3 separate regions of the Homo sapiens genome follow, and all the other regions are linked to region 1. Evidence: promoter capture Hi-C in 16 types of primary human blood cells and fetal thymus (Javierre and others, 2016). All regions are on one chromosome and are shown on one strand. The core of a region is centred on a gene start or on the middle of the fragment in contact, and the rest is flanking DNA. Distances in the headings are between cores, read along the strand shown.

Region 1 (4,459 bases), core at 633-3,132:
CCCTTCATTAGTCTGAGAACATCAGAAGGGAAGAATCATTTCAGTCCTGTCCCCTTAATACCACCATCCAATTGGCTGACCAGCCATATATCCCCAAGGAAGGGATGGGGGAAGAAAAGCTGAGTGTTCTAAGGAAGTAGCTTATTGAGGAAGGGTATACCAGGAGACTCCTCCCACTACAGGGCATCATGCTGCTTCCCTACAAGGTCCCACCATCTCCACCTCAGGGTGTCCTCTGGGAGGAGTGACAAAGGGACTGATATTCACTTGACACTACAAGAGACTTGGCAGCTGTGGGCATCTTGGGGTGGCCCCAGGCAGCTCTGAAACCCAGGACCAGGAAACCATAGAGGATGGGCTGGGGACTCATCACTCTGTAACGTTTCCAAAGAGGAAACTTAATCCAAAGACATTCTCAAAAGGTGTCTCTGTCTAGGGATGATGAAGGGAGGACAGTAACAAAGATTTTATTTATTAATATTCATTTTTTTTACAGCGAAATGTCTGGTGGTTTTTCTCTGCTTCCTCTCATGTGAAATGTTCACAAACACAAAACCTTTTACAAAGAGCCATATATTGCTATGTATAAACAAAATGACAATTAAAATACTAGCCTCTGTTTGAAAAATAAACTGGGGGACAAGGAGTTCATAAAGTTGCTGTGAATTGAGGAGAGAAAGCCTGAGGAAGGCTCTGGAAGCCAAGGGATTTTCTGTCGGCCCTAGGAGGAGTTAGGATGAGAGAACACAGTGGTGGACTTGAGACCCTGCTGCCCACATCTTTGGAAGACTCGAAGGCGAACGGGTCACCCTTGGGAAGAAAGAAGGGACAGGGGACCACACAGACCACAACTCCTCCCACACACAAACCCCACACACGAGTCTGCCTGGTGACCTGTCATCACCGTGCAGCCTCCTCACCGGGTTCACAGAACTGCGAGCCAGGCTGGAGGCGAGATTGCAGTTAGATATTAACCAGGTGCCCTCAGCCCCGCTGCCTCGCGGGGCCGCCTCCCCAAGAGTCAGGCCACAGCAGATGCTGACCGCCGGCTTCGCCATTGTGCTTGGGGATGAGATCTCTGAGAGTTGCTCAAGAGTCGCCTGAGTTCTTTCTCAGATCCTGAATTCCAGCGGAAAGGCTGGCGCCAACCAGGCTGAAGACCCCACAAGGGAACCCACTCAGCAGAAGAATGCGGTTTCTTCACCTCCAGTCCCAAGAGTCACCCCTCACTTCCCCACCATCCAGCGACCCCACGCCCCAGCCGCCCCTGTCCACACCCCTAAACACCCCATCCCCAAACCTCTCAGGAAGGCGGATCTGGGGTGTCCTCCCCTCTCCCCCTATTAAACTGTTTCTGCTGCAGCCCTCGGCGTCTCGGTGCAGTGACTCGGGCCGCGAACCTGTGCCGGTTACAGCCGCACAATCTGGGGAGACGCAGGACTGCGGGCGCGGAGCTGCCCAGACAGGCCTCCAGGGCCAGGGCCGCAGTGGCCGCGCAGGGACGGGACAGGACGCCCGGGGTCCCGGCTGCCGCCCCAGCCCCATCGTGCGGCCGAGGGAACCGAGGGCCGAGCTGCGCCAGGGTGTCGCCGGCGGGGAAGACCTGGTGCCACCACAGCCGGTTCCGGCCGGTTCCAACCAGTCTCTCCTCTCACGCGTCGGGACACCAGACCTCACACACTCACCATTTCCCGGCTTCCGGCGTCCAGGTTCCTCCCTCTGCCTCCCGCTGTCAGTGCGGGTCCCAGCGAGACAGAAGCTGCCACAGACGTTCCAGGGCGTCTCTCAGTGACAGAACCCGGAGCCCAGTGCAGGGGCGTGGAGAAGACTCGGCGGGCTCTTTGAACCTTGCACCCTCCTCCGGTCAGTGCGCCTGATTGACAGTTCTCACGACCCCGCCCCGCGGCCCTGATTGGATAGTGCGCCAGGTCCCTCCCCCGGGCACTGAGTAACGGAAGAAGCGATCTCGGGCAGCGGAGTGGAACCTGATAAACAGATTCCAGACAGGCCTTGAGAGGACTAGCTTCCTCCCTGCGCTGTGACCTGACCCCCTCCCAGGGGACATTTGCATTTAGGCAGTATGTCCTGACCTTCCTCCTTTTTCCTCTTGGACAGGGACCCACAAGTCTGTGCAGGAAATTCCAGACTCACTGTCCAGTGGAGCTATCCCCTGATTTGAGAGCAGGAAGGGAGCCCAGGCCACACTGCAGCAGAAGGGAGGGGCTGATGTCCTCCAGGAATCAGGAGTTTTGGATGAGGCTGTTGGCTGCACAGGCCAAGCCTTTCTCCCACCTTATGTCTCAATCTACTAATTTTCAGTGCAGAATATAAAAACACCCCAACAAAGCCGGGCGTGGTGGCTCACACCTGTAATCCCAGCACTTTGGGAGGCTGAGGCAGGTGGATCACCTGAGGTCAGAAATTCGAGACCAGTCTGGCCAACATGGTGAAATCCCGTCTCTAAAATACAAAGATTAGCCGGATGTGGTGGCGCACGCCTGTAGTCCCAGCTACTCAGGAGGCTGAGACAGAGGAATCACTTGAACCTGGAAGGCAGAGGCTGCAGTGAGAGAGTGGGCGAGACAGAGGGAGACTCCGTCTCAAAAAAAAAAAAAAAGAAAAAAGAAAAAAGAAATAAATAAAATTGTTAAATGTGTGGAAAAACTGGAATTATATGGCGGCAATATTTTATAAAGCAAAAACTTGAACTAGCTCAGATAAGCAGCCTGCTGCATCCACACACAGTTCACAAGTCAACCACTTTCAGGAGGCCAAACATATTCCAAAGCTTGGAGGCCAGACGATAATTCCTGAAATGGAGCCCTAGGGTGGATCAGAACCTGGGGATGAGTCAGGGGCACTAATGGATTTAACTCTGGGAGTTCAATTTGCCCTCCTGTCTCCTAAACACAGCGTGGAAATGCTCCTTCCATCAAGCCTATAAATGTTATTGAATTAAATGCTTCAATCAAAGGCTGAGACATTAGACTTTGAATTTGAAAACATTCATCTTCATATTTTTATGAAGAATACCAGATATAAAAGCATTATGAGGCCAGGCACCGTGGCTCATGCCTGCAATCCCACCACTTTGGGAGGCTGAGGTGGGTGGATTGCTTGAGCTCAGGAGCTCAAGACCGGCCTGGGCAATGTGGTGAAACCCCCATCTCTATTTAAAAACAAACAAAAAAAAAGCGTTATTAACTGGGAGCTGGCACCCATGGTGATACGAAGAAAAAGAGGTTTAATTGACTCACAGTTCAGCATGGCTGGGGAGGCCTCACAATCATGGTGGAAGGCAAAGGAGGAGCAAAAGCAAATGTTACATGGCGGCAGGCAAGAGAGCGTGTGCAGGGGAACTGCCCTTTATAAAGCCATCGGATCTCATGAGACTTACTCACCCAAATCTCATTTTGAATTGCAGCTCCCATAATCCCCACATGTCATGGGAGTGATCCAGTGGGAGGTAATTGAATCATGGAGGCGGTTTTCCCATGCTGTTCTCGTGATAGTGAATAAGTCTCATGAAATCTGATGGCTTTATAAAGGGCAGTTTCCCTGTACATGCTCTCTTGCCTGCCGCCATGTAACATTTGCCTTTGCTCCTCCTTAGCCTTCCACCAACACCTGACCAAATGGATATGACATCTACAGAACTTTCCACCCAAAACCAACAGATTATACATTCTTCTCCTCACCACATGGCACATACTCTAAAATCAGTAACATAATCAGACATAAAATAACCCTCAGCAAATTAAAAAAACAAGCAAACAAAATCATACCAACTGCACTCTCAGACCACAGTGCAATAAAAATAGAAATCAAGACTAAGAAAATCTCCCCAAACCATACAATTATATCAAAATTAAATGACCTGGTTCAGAATGACTTCTGAGTAAATAATGAAATTAACACCAAAATCAAGAAATTCTTGGAAACTGAGAAGAAAGATACAACATACCAGAATCTCTGGGGCACAGCTAAAGAAGTGTTAAGATGGAAATTTATAGCACTAACTGCCCAAATCAAAAAGAAAGATCTGAAATTAATAACCCAATATCACAACTAGAAGAACTAGAGAAGCAAGAGCAAACCAATCCCAAAGCTAGCAGAAGACAAGAAATGACCAAAATCAGAGCTAAAATGACCAAAATCAGAGCTAAACTGAAGGAAATTGAGATACAAAAAAAAAAAAAAACATACAAAAGATTAGCAAATGCAAGACTTAGTTCTTGGAAAAAAATAACTTAAAAAGTCCCAAATAGTCAAGGCAATCCTAAGCAAAAAGAACAAAGCTGGAGGCATCATGCTACCAGACTTCAAACTATATACTACAGGGCTACAGTAAGGTATTTTTACAAAAACTGACACATTACCAATGGAACAGAATAGAGAGCCTAGAAATAATGCTGCTCACCTTCAACCATCTGATCTTTCACAAAGCTGACAAAAACAA
Region 2 (4,459 bases), core at 566-3,065, 410 kb before region 1:
TCACACCATCATTTACTTTCCTTCAAAGTGCTTATTTCCTTCTTATAAACCAGTCTTACCATTTTTTCAACCCCTCTCCTTTCTCACAAAAATATAAGCACCAGGATTTCAAGAATTTATTCACTTTGTGTTCCCATATCAGAGCCTTCAGTGCCTGCATCATTTGTGCTTAATTCTGGATGTTCTGAGTCTACAGTTCTGGCATATGAGGCATATTGAAAAATTAGCATCAAGAGCATATTATCTGAGCAAGAGAGGCTTGATTAGAATAGTGATCATGTCTCTGTCCCTTGCTAGGTTTATATTCTGACAACTTTCCTAGAGGCATTAGCCTAATTTGACTAATAAGGGAGACTTTTAAAAATTATCAGTAGTTGGCCGGGGGCGGTGGCTCACGCCTGTAATCCCAGCACTTTGGGAGACCGAGGCAGGCAGATCACGAGGTCAGGAGATCAAGACCATCCTGGCTAACATGGTGAAACCCCGTCTCTACTAAAATTACAAAAAAATTAGCCGGGTGTGGTGGCGGGCACCTGTAGTCCCAGCTACTCGGGAGGCTGAGGCAGGAGAATGGTGTGAACCCGGGAGGTGGAGCTTGCAGTGAGCCGAGACTGCGCCACTGCACTCCAGCCCGGGCAACAGAGCCAGACTCTGTCTCAAAAAAAAAAAATTATCAATAGTTAGAATTTATATATTTCAACTGAGGTATCTTATGGGAAGCCATGTCTAATTCATCATAAGAAATATTTCAGTGTTTAGGTAATAAACTTAGCGCCACTCCATCTTTTTTACTTCTGGGTAAGAACTATCATAATAACCAAGGCCAGAAATAACCTTGCTTCTTCATAGTATACAATCCAGAGAAGCTTCTTGCTTTGAATAGCAATCAATACACCTGAAGCAAGCACACGTCCTAGAAGAAATTCTTTTGGGCTGGGTGTGGTGGCTCACGCCTGTAATCCCAGCACTTTGGGAGGCCGAGGCTGGCAGACCACCTGAGGTCAGGAGATCGAGACCACCCTGGCCAACATGGAGGAACCCCGTCTCTATAAAAAATACAAAAATTAACCAGGCATGGTGACCTGTGCCTGTAATCCCAGCTACTCAGGAGGGTGAGGCAGGAGAATAGCTTGAACCTGGAAGGCAGAGGTTGCAGTAAGCCCAGACTGTGCCACTTGCACTCCAGCCTGGCCGACAGAGTGAGACTCCATCTCAAAAAAAAAAGAAAAAAAAAAAAAGAAATTCTTTTGAGCGCTCTCCTATTGATACACCACACAGTCACGTATGGTTTACTATCATATTTATGATGACTTTTTTTTATACCTTCTTTGACAGGAGCTATGGTCCTGATAATCTTTGGAAAAAGGTTAAAAGCTTGATTTAACTTTTGGTATCATAAGTGAATGAGAAATAATTCTTGTGATAAAAACTGTGACTACATGAGCATGAAAATGAAAATTTATGTGAAAAAAACACACCTAAAATTGTATGCACAGAATATTGATTCACAATTTTTCTTTTTTTTTTTTCTTTCTTTCTTTTTTTTCTTTTGTGAGACAGAGTCTCATTCTGCTGCCCAGGCTGGAGTGCAGTGGCATGATCTCGGCTCACTGCAAGCTCCGCCTCCCAGGTTCATGCCATTCTCCTGCCTCAGCCTCCCGAGTAGCAGGGACTATGGGTGCCCGCCACCACGCCCGGCTAATTTTTGCATTTTTAGTAGAGACAGGGTTACACCGTGTTAGCCAGGATGGTCTCGATCTCCTGACCTCATGATCCACCCACCTCAGCCTCCCAAAGTACTGGGATTACAGGCGTGAGCCACCCCTCCCCGCCTGATTCACAATATTTAACAAATAACGCCACAAAATTATAAAGTTTATTATAAAGTTGATCTGATCCATGATTGCAATGGAATTTTTTATATAACTTAGCAGCAAATGAAAAAGACATTAACATTTGTTAGCATACATGCTGTTCGAAACCAGTTAGTAAACTATTTCTAAGAAACATGTCCAAAAATGTTGCTTGAGGAAATAATACATACTATGTTTGATCACATACAATCAAACCTAACTCAGGGATTCAGCTGTGAATAATAGGAAAGACCCACAATCTTCCTGATATGAGGAAGGTGCTTAATCTCACAAAAGAGTTCTGGGTGAAACCAGACACTGCAGAAAGAGTACATAAACAAGTTCCCATGTAGCTGTTTTTGACAGCACCATTGTGGATGTGGATGTCAAACTAAAAAGCTTTTTAGCACAGCAAAGGAAACAATTAACAGAGTGGAAAGGCAGGCAACACACGGAGTGGGAGAAAATACTTGCAAACCATATATCTGATAAGGTGTTAAAATCCAAAATATATAAAGAATTCAAACAGCTCAATAGCAAGAAAACAATCCAATTTAAAACTTTTATTATTTATTTATTTTTGAGATTGAGTCTCACTCTGACACCCACATTGGAGTGCAGTGGCACAATCTTGGCTCACTGCAACCTCTGCCTCCCAGGCTCAAGCCATCCTCCCACCTCAGCTGGGAGTAGCTGGGACCACAGGTACATGCCACAATGCTCAGCTAATTTTTTGTATATTTGGTAGAGATGAGGTTTTGCCATGTTGCCTAGGCTGGTCTCAGACTCCCGAGATCTGGCAATCCACCTGCCTCAGACTCCCAAAGTGCTGAGATTATAGGCATGAGCCACTGGGCCTGGCCTCCAATTTTTCAAATGGGCAAAGGATCTAAACAGACATTTCTGAAAAGAGCAAATATAAATGACAAAGACATTCATGAAAAAATGTTTAACATCTCAAATCATTAGGGAAATGCAAACTAAAACCTCAATGAGACATCACACCTGCGAGAATGACTGTTACCAAAAAGATTTTTCAAAAGTCTGGGTGCGGTGGTTCATGCCTGTAATCCCAGCATTTTGGGAGGCCAAGACAGGTGGATCACGAGGTCAGGAGTTCACGAGCAGCCTAGCCAACATAGTGAAACCCCATCTCCACTAAAAACACAAAAATTAGCTGGGCATGGTGGCATGTGCCTGTAATCCCAGCTACTCAGGAGGCTGAGGCAGGAGAATTGCTTGAACTGGGACCCGGGAGGTAGAGGTTGTAGTGAGCCGAGATCGCGCCACTGCACTTCAGCCTGGGCTACAGAGCGAGACTCCGTCTCAAAACAAAAACAAACAAACAAAAACTTCTATACTTAAGTGGGACGTAGCCCAGAAAAGCAACACTGTTTTCACATTTGAAAATCACAATATTAATAGAATCAGTATCAAAAACATTTGACAAGGGTCAATATCCTTTCAATACCTCTTCCACCATGAAGACATTCAGTAAACTGGAAATGGAAGGGAACTTCCTTAACCTGAAATAAGGTATCCATGAAAACCCCACTATAACATCATACTGATGGTGACACTGAATGTTTCCCCCTAAGATCAAATACAAGACAAGGATGTCTGTTTTTGACACAGCTATTTAACATGCTAAAAGATGCTACCAGGGCAATCAGGCAAGAAAATGAAATAAAAGCATTCCAGATTTTAAAGGGCATACAAACACAGCCTCTGTCTCCCCATCAGACATACAAAATCACTCACACTTTGTCACTGCACATATAGGTGGCCATACCCAGGTAGACACACAAACCCTCAGAGATAACACCTCAGAGACATAAACAGGTGCTTGCAGAGACAAACACAGCCCAGGCCTCTCCACTCCTCCCCAGCTTTCTCTCTCTCCTTAGGACTAAGCACCATCTGACACACTGCATATTCTACTTATATCTTGTTTCTTGTCTCCCACCCTGCTTCAGGCAGATAGGGTTATTTGTTCAGCTCTGTTTAACGCAGCACCCACTAGGAGATCTGTTACAAAAAAGGAGATTAATACTCATGGAAAGGCTGGGCGCAGTGGCTCACGTCTGTAATCCCAGCACTTTGGGAGGCTGAAGCAGATGGATCACCTGAGGTCAGGAGTTTGAGACCAGCCTGGCCAACATGGTGAAAACCCATCTCTACTAAAAATACAAAAATTAGCTGGGTGTGGTGGCAAGCGCCTGTAATCCCAGCTATACGGGAGGCTGAAGCAGGAGAATCGCTTGAATCAAGGAGGCAGAGGTTGCAGTGAGCCGAGATCCCGCCACTGCAGTCCCACCTGGGCAACAAGAGCGAAACTCCATCTCAAAAAAAAAAAAGTACTCATTGAATCAGGAGATCATACACACACAGGGGTTTTACACAAACCTCATCATAGGCCCACATTCACTTGATTTTCAGAGTGAATTCTTTACAACCCATCCCATGTGGCACAGGGGTGTCTCTTAACCTCCAGACCAAAGGTAGGTTTATCCAAATGAGCTGAAAATTTAGGTCCAGGCAAACAATTGTACACAGATGTTTATAGCAGCGTTATTCATAATTTTCAAAATTTGGAAGCAACTGAG
Region 3 (4,459 bases), core at 1,019-3,518, 360 kb before region 1:
GTCTTCATTTCTTTCAGTTCCATTCAGTATCATAAGATGACTCACACTGGAGAGAAACCCTATGAATGTAAGCAGTGTGGGAAAGCCTTTAGATGTGGCTCACACCTTCAAAAGCATGGAAGGACTCACACTGGAGAGAAACCCTATGAATGTAGGCAATGTGGTAAAGCCTTCAGATGTACCTCGGACCTTCAAAGGCATGAAAAGACACACACTGAGGATAAACCCTATGGATGTAAGCAGTGTGGGAAAGGCTTTAGATGTGCTTCACAACTTCAAATTCATGAAAGGACGCACAGTGGAGAGAAACCCCATGAATGTAAGGAATGTGGAAAAGTATTCAAGTATTTTTCTTCCTTGCGTATACATGAAAGGACGCACACTGGAGAGAAGCCCCATGAATGTAAGCAATGTGGAAAAGCATTCAGGTATTTCTCTTCCTTGCATATACATGAAAGGACACACACTGGAGATAAGCCATATGAGTGTAAGGTATGTGGCAAAGCCTTCACTTGTTCCAGTTCCATTCGATATCATGAAAGGACTCACACTGGAGAGAAACCCTATGAATGTAAGCACTGTGGTAAGGCCTTTATTTCCAATTACATTCGATATCATGAAAGGACTCACACTGGAGAGAAACCCTATCAATGCAAGCAATGTGGCAAAGCCTTTATTCGTGCCAGTTCATGTCGAGAACATGAAAGAACTCATACCATTAATAGATGAGAAATCCTTTTAGTGGAAGCAACGGGAGAAGCTTTCTGTTGTCCCACTTCCTTTGAAACACAAGAAAAGAGAGTGGTGAAAGAACCTCTGGATAACTGCTTTTTGAATTGAGAAGAGAGACTTGCGATAGGACAATAAAATCTAGAAGAACTTGGATGGTTTCGTAATACAATTCACCTATAGCCAATCTTGCATGAGATTTCAAAGGCACAGAAAAGGAAGGCATCAGTCACATATTAGAGGCCCCACACAGGGAGAGAGGTGTGTGGCTACCCGCTTCCAGCCCATTTTCCTGATTCTTTGGCTTGTTAATCGAGAATATCCCCCAAATCACTTGTCTCTGTTCCTCAGAGTTGTAGGTCTCCAGATATGTCCCCAGTGCTCCACATTAAAGATACATGCCCACTTTGCTGTTTCTTCAGAAATGTTAAAATGTTTACCAGAGAACTAATAAATGTTGTTATGGCTGGAAATACTCACTGATGCCCAACTCTTCTATAGATTGAGTTGGTTTAAGAGGTCTACTTTGTATTGCAAGCATTGTTGTTTCTACGGATTAGCGAGCCTGTTCTTGATTAAACCAACTAGATGGGAGCTTGTTCCTCTGCTGCATTGTGCAGTGATTGGTCTCACCAAGGGCTTTTATGTGAGAAGAGCCACCTTGCTCTTATCAGGAAATTTCAAGCATTTGCTGTTATTCACAACTGAATGTAATGTCTCACTTCGTTTTTAACTTTGTATGAGTATACCTGACTAAAAACACTAATGCGGTTTCTTGGCAACAAATACTTCTGTTCATGTATTTTAGAAATAAGCTTATTAACTGTTTATAACAACTGCATACTAACAATTATTATTTTTTAATGAAGAAGCTACATTACAACCTCCCATTAACATCATGTATTAGATCAAGTTGATAATGTTACCATGTTATCCGGTGGTCACTGTGAGTCAGTGTTGCCATGTGGATGTCAGGCATATTTTTCCTCATGTAGATTTTACTTTTCATGCTTATATTCTTAGTTTTTATCTGGATCATGAATTTTCATCTATTCTAAATACCAAAGGTGATCTCATGTTCTTATGAGTGACTTCTGACCAAAGACCACCAGTGGCATAAGTGTCGTCAAAGAGGGTGTAATAATATACTGTGGTAATGAATATGACCAAAAGCCATAGATGACTGTGAGATGTGTGAGATATTAAAAGATAGTCACATTTCGTGAGAAGAGAAAAATTTGGGGTATGTTTGCAATTTAAAGTGTTTTCTTCTGTCACATTTCAAGACATGGTTAAAGAATGAGGTTTTTTTTTATTTTAATTTTTTTTTTTTTGAGACGGAGTCTTGCTCTGTCGCCCAGGCTGGAGTGCAGTGACTCGATCTCGGCTCATTGCAAGCTCCGCTTCCTGGTTCACGCCATTCTCCTGCCTCAACCTCCCAAGTAACTGGGACTACAGGTGCCCGCCACCGCGCCTGGCTAATTTTTTGTATTTTTAGTAGAGACAGGGTTTCACCATGGTCTCGATCTCCTGACTTCGTGATCCACCCGCCTCGGCCTCCCAAAGTGCTGGGATTACAGGCATGAGCCACTGTGCCCTGCCAAGAATTAGTTATTTTTGTATTGATCCATCATGGTCACTGAAGAGCATCATCTCACATTGCAGGTGTATGACATGTGCCTGTTCAGGGGCAAAAGACTCGGCCTTCTGGCGAGGGGAGGCCAGCCATCAGACTTCTGGACCAGTTTTTACCATACTATTCTCTAAACCCTGATATATTCCCTACAATTTATGGACATTGTTAACCATAACATACCTCAGTTAAAATCTATAAATTCACTTCTTATCAAGGTATATACTATGATTTTATTTATTTATTTTTTGTAGAGATGGAGTCTCCCTGTTTCCCAGGCTGGTCATTGACTGCTGGATCATGTGATTCTTCTGTCTCCATCTCCCCAAGTTCTGGGATTACAGACATGAGCCACCACAATTGGCTACTACTTTTTTAAAAAAATCACCTTGAGTCCTATGGGGCCAATATGTTTTTGAAAACTGAATTTCCTGCCCAGTAAAGAACAAAGTCAGCATCACTATTCCAATCAAGTCTTTCTTTCTCTGGTAACATGCTGTTGATGCAAACTTGTCAGGAACCCTCTTATGCTAATATTATGAAGCTAATGACATCGTGGAAAAGTCATGCATGGAACAATCCGATCATTTCCTTTAAGGTGTCATGGGTGCTTCTCTTCACAAAAGCTTATTTCAGTCTCCCTAGAGTAAAAATCCCAGTCCCAGCAGACATAGAAGCAATCACTGACTGACCAAACCTTAACTATGTGTGATGACATATGGAAAATACCTTGATTTGTGAGATATGAATTTTTTTTTTTTGGAGACAGAGTCTGGAGGACAGTGGTGCAATCTTGGCTCACCGCAACCTCTGCCTCCTGGGGTCAAGTGATTCTCCTGCCTCAGCCTCCCAAGTAGCTGGAATTACAGGCACCTGCCACCATGCCTGGCTATTTTTTTGTATTTTTAGTAGACAGGGTTTCACCATGTTGGCCAGGCTGGTCTCAAACTCCTGACCTCATGTGATCCACCTGCCTCGGCCTCCCAAAGTGCCAGGATTACAGGTGTGAGCCACCATGCCTGGCCAAAAATTCCTTTTTTTTTTTTTGAGATGGAGTCTTGCTCTGTTGCCCAGGCTGGAGGGCAGTGGCGCGATCTCGGCTCACTGCAAGCCTCCGCCTCCCTGGTTCACGCCATTCTCCTGCCTCAGCTTCCCGAGTAGCTGGGACTACAGGTGCCCGCCACCACGCCTGGCTATTTTTTTGTATTTTTTTTTTTAGTAGAGACAGGGTTTCACCATGTTAGCCAGGATGGTCTCGATCTCCTGGCCTCGTGATCCGCCCACCTCGGCCTCCCAAAGTGCTGGGATTATAAGTGTGAGCCACCACGCCTGGCCCAAAAATTCTTATTTTGACTATTCATGTCTTATTTTTGCACTTTTTCACAAAGCAAGGTCAAAAAGCAAAGGAAAAATCCTTTAAGATCAATGTACTTAGGTTGAAAATGTGTTTTTTCTCAGGAAAAACTTGTAATTTATATAATTACAATCCTCAGTTTATTTGCAGCATCACCAAATTTTCTTACATATTTCAAATGTGAACTTAAGATATATATTTTTCTCATTATTTACATTTTGCTTCCTACCTATGGCTTTTTTTTTTTTTTTTTTGAGACAGAGTGTCGCTCTGTTGCCTAGGCTGAATTGCAGTGGCACGATCTCAGCTCACTGCAACCTCTGCTTCCCAGGTTCAAGCAAGTCTCGTCACAACCTCCCAAGTAGCTGGCACTACAGGCGAACACCACCATGCCCAGTTAATTTTTGTGTTTTTTGTAGAATTGGAGTTTCACCATGTTGGCCAGACTGGTCTCTAAACTCCTGGCCTCAAGCGATCCATCTGCCTCGGCCTCCCAAAGTGCTGGGATTATAGGCATGAGCCAACATGCCTGGCTCCTCTAGACCTTTTAAATCTTTTACTCATGATATTGGTCAGCCCACGGTCAAAATAATTCATAAAAGGTATATACAAAAATTCAACACCACAATGAAAGTTAAATTCATTTGTTTAGAACCACTCAAGCAACTCAGGTGTACACAGATAGACCTGTGGCAACTGGTGAACAATTAAATGGCACAGAAGTGGCTGGGTGCAGTGGCTCA

The links. Contacts are between HindIII fragments. The CHiCAGO score rates a contact against its expected background, and 5 or more counts as called.
Region 2: a contact is called between a fragment that was not itself captured here and the fragment with the promoter of ZNF441 in region 1, in 1 of 17 cell types (activated CD4 T cells). The highest score is 5.2, in activated CD4 T cells.
Region 3: a fragment that was not itself captured here is called in contact with the fragment with the promoter of ZNF441 in region 1 in 3 of 17 cell types (total CD4 T cells, naive CD4 T cells and monocytes); the score reaches 6.1 in total CD4 T cells.

The regions. Positions count from the first base shown.
Region 1 is chr19:11,764,423-11,768,881 of GRCh38, reverse strand. It overlaps ZNF441 (zinc finger protein 441), which reads right to left and starts at 1,882. Exons shown (of 4, transcript NM_152355.3): 1 at 1,686-1,882. The coding sequence starts at 1,688. RefSeq lists silencers at 852-961, 1,412-1,551 and an enhancer at 1,622-1,721. The HindIII fragment of the contact is 9,985 bases long and covers 1-2,790 here.
Region 2 is chr19:12,176,083-12,180,541 of GRCh38, reverse strand. All of the region lies in intron 1 of ZNF136 (zinc finger protein 136), which reads right to left. Among named protein-coding and RNA genes, the nearest start is that of ZNF136, 15 kb to the right of the region's middle. The HindIII fragment of the contact is 878 bases long and covers 1,377-2,254 here.
Region 3 is chr19:12,128,857-12,133,315 of GRCh38, reverse strand. ZNF20 (zinc finger protein 20) reads left to right here. Exons shown (of 4, transcript NM_021143.4): 4 at 1-1,966. The coding sequence ends at 729. It overlaps ZNF625-ZNF20 (ZNF625-ZNF20 readthrough (NMD candidate)), which reads left to right. Exons shown (of 8, transcript NR_037802.1): 8 at 1-1,966. Among named protein-coding and RNA genes, the nearest start is that of ZNF20, 9.3 kb to the left of the region's middle. The HindIII fragment of the contact is 1,444 bases long and covers 1,547-2,990 here.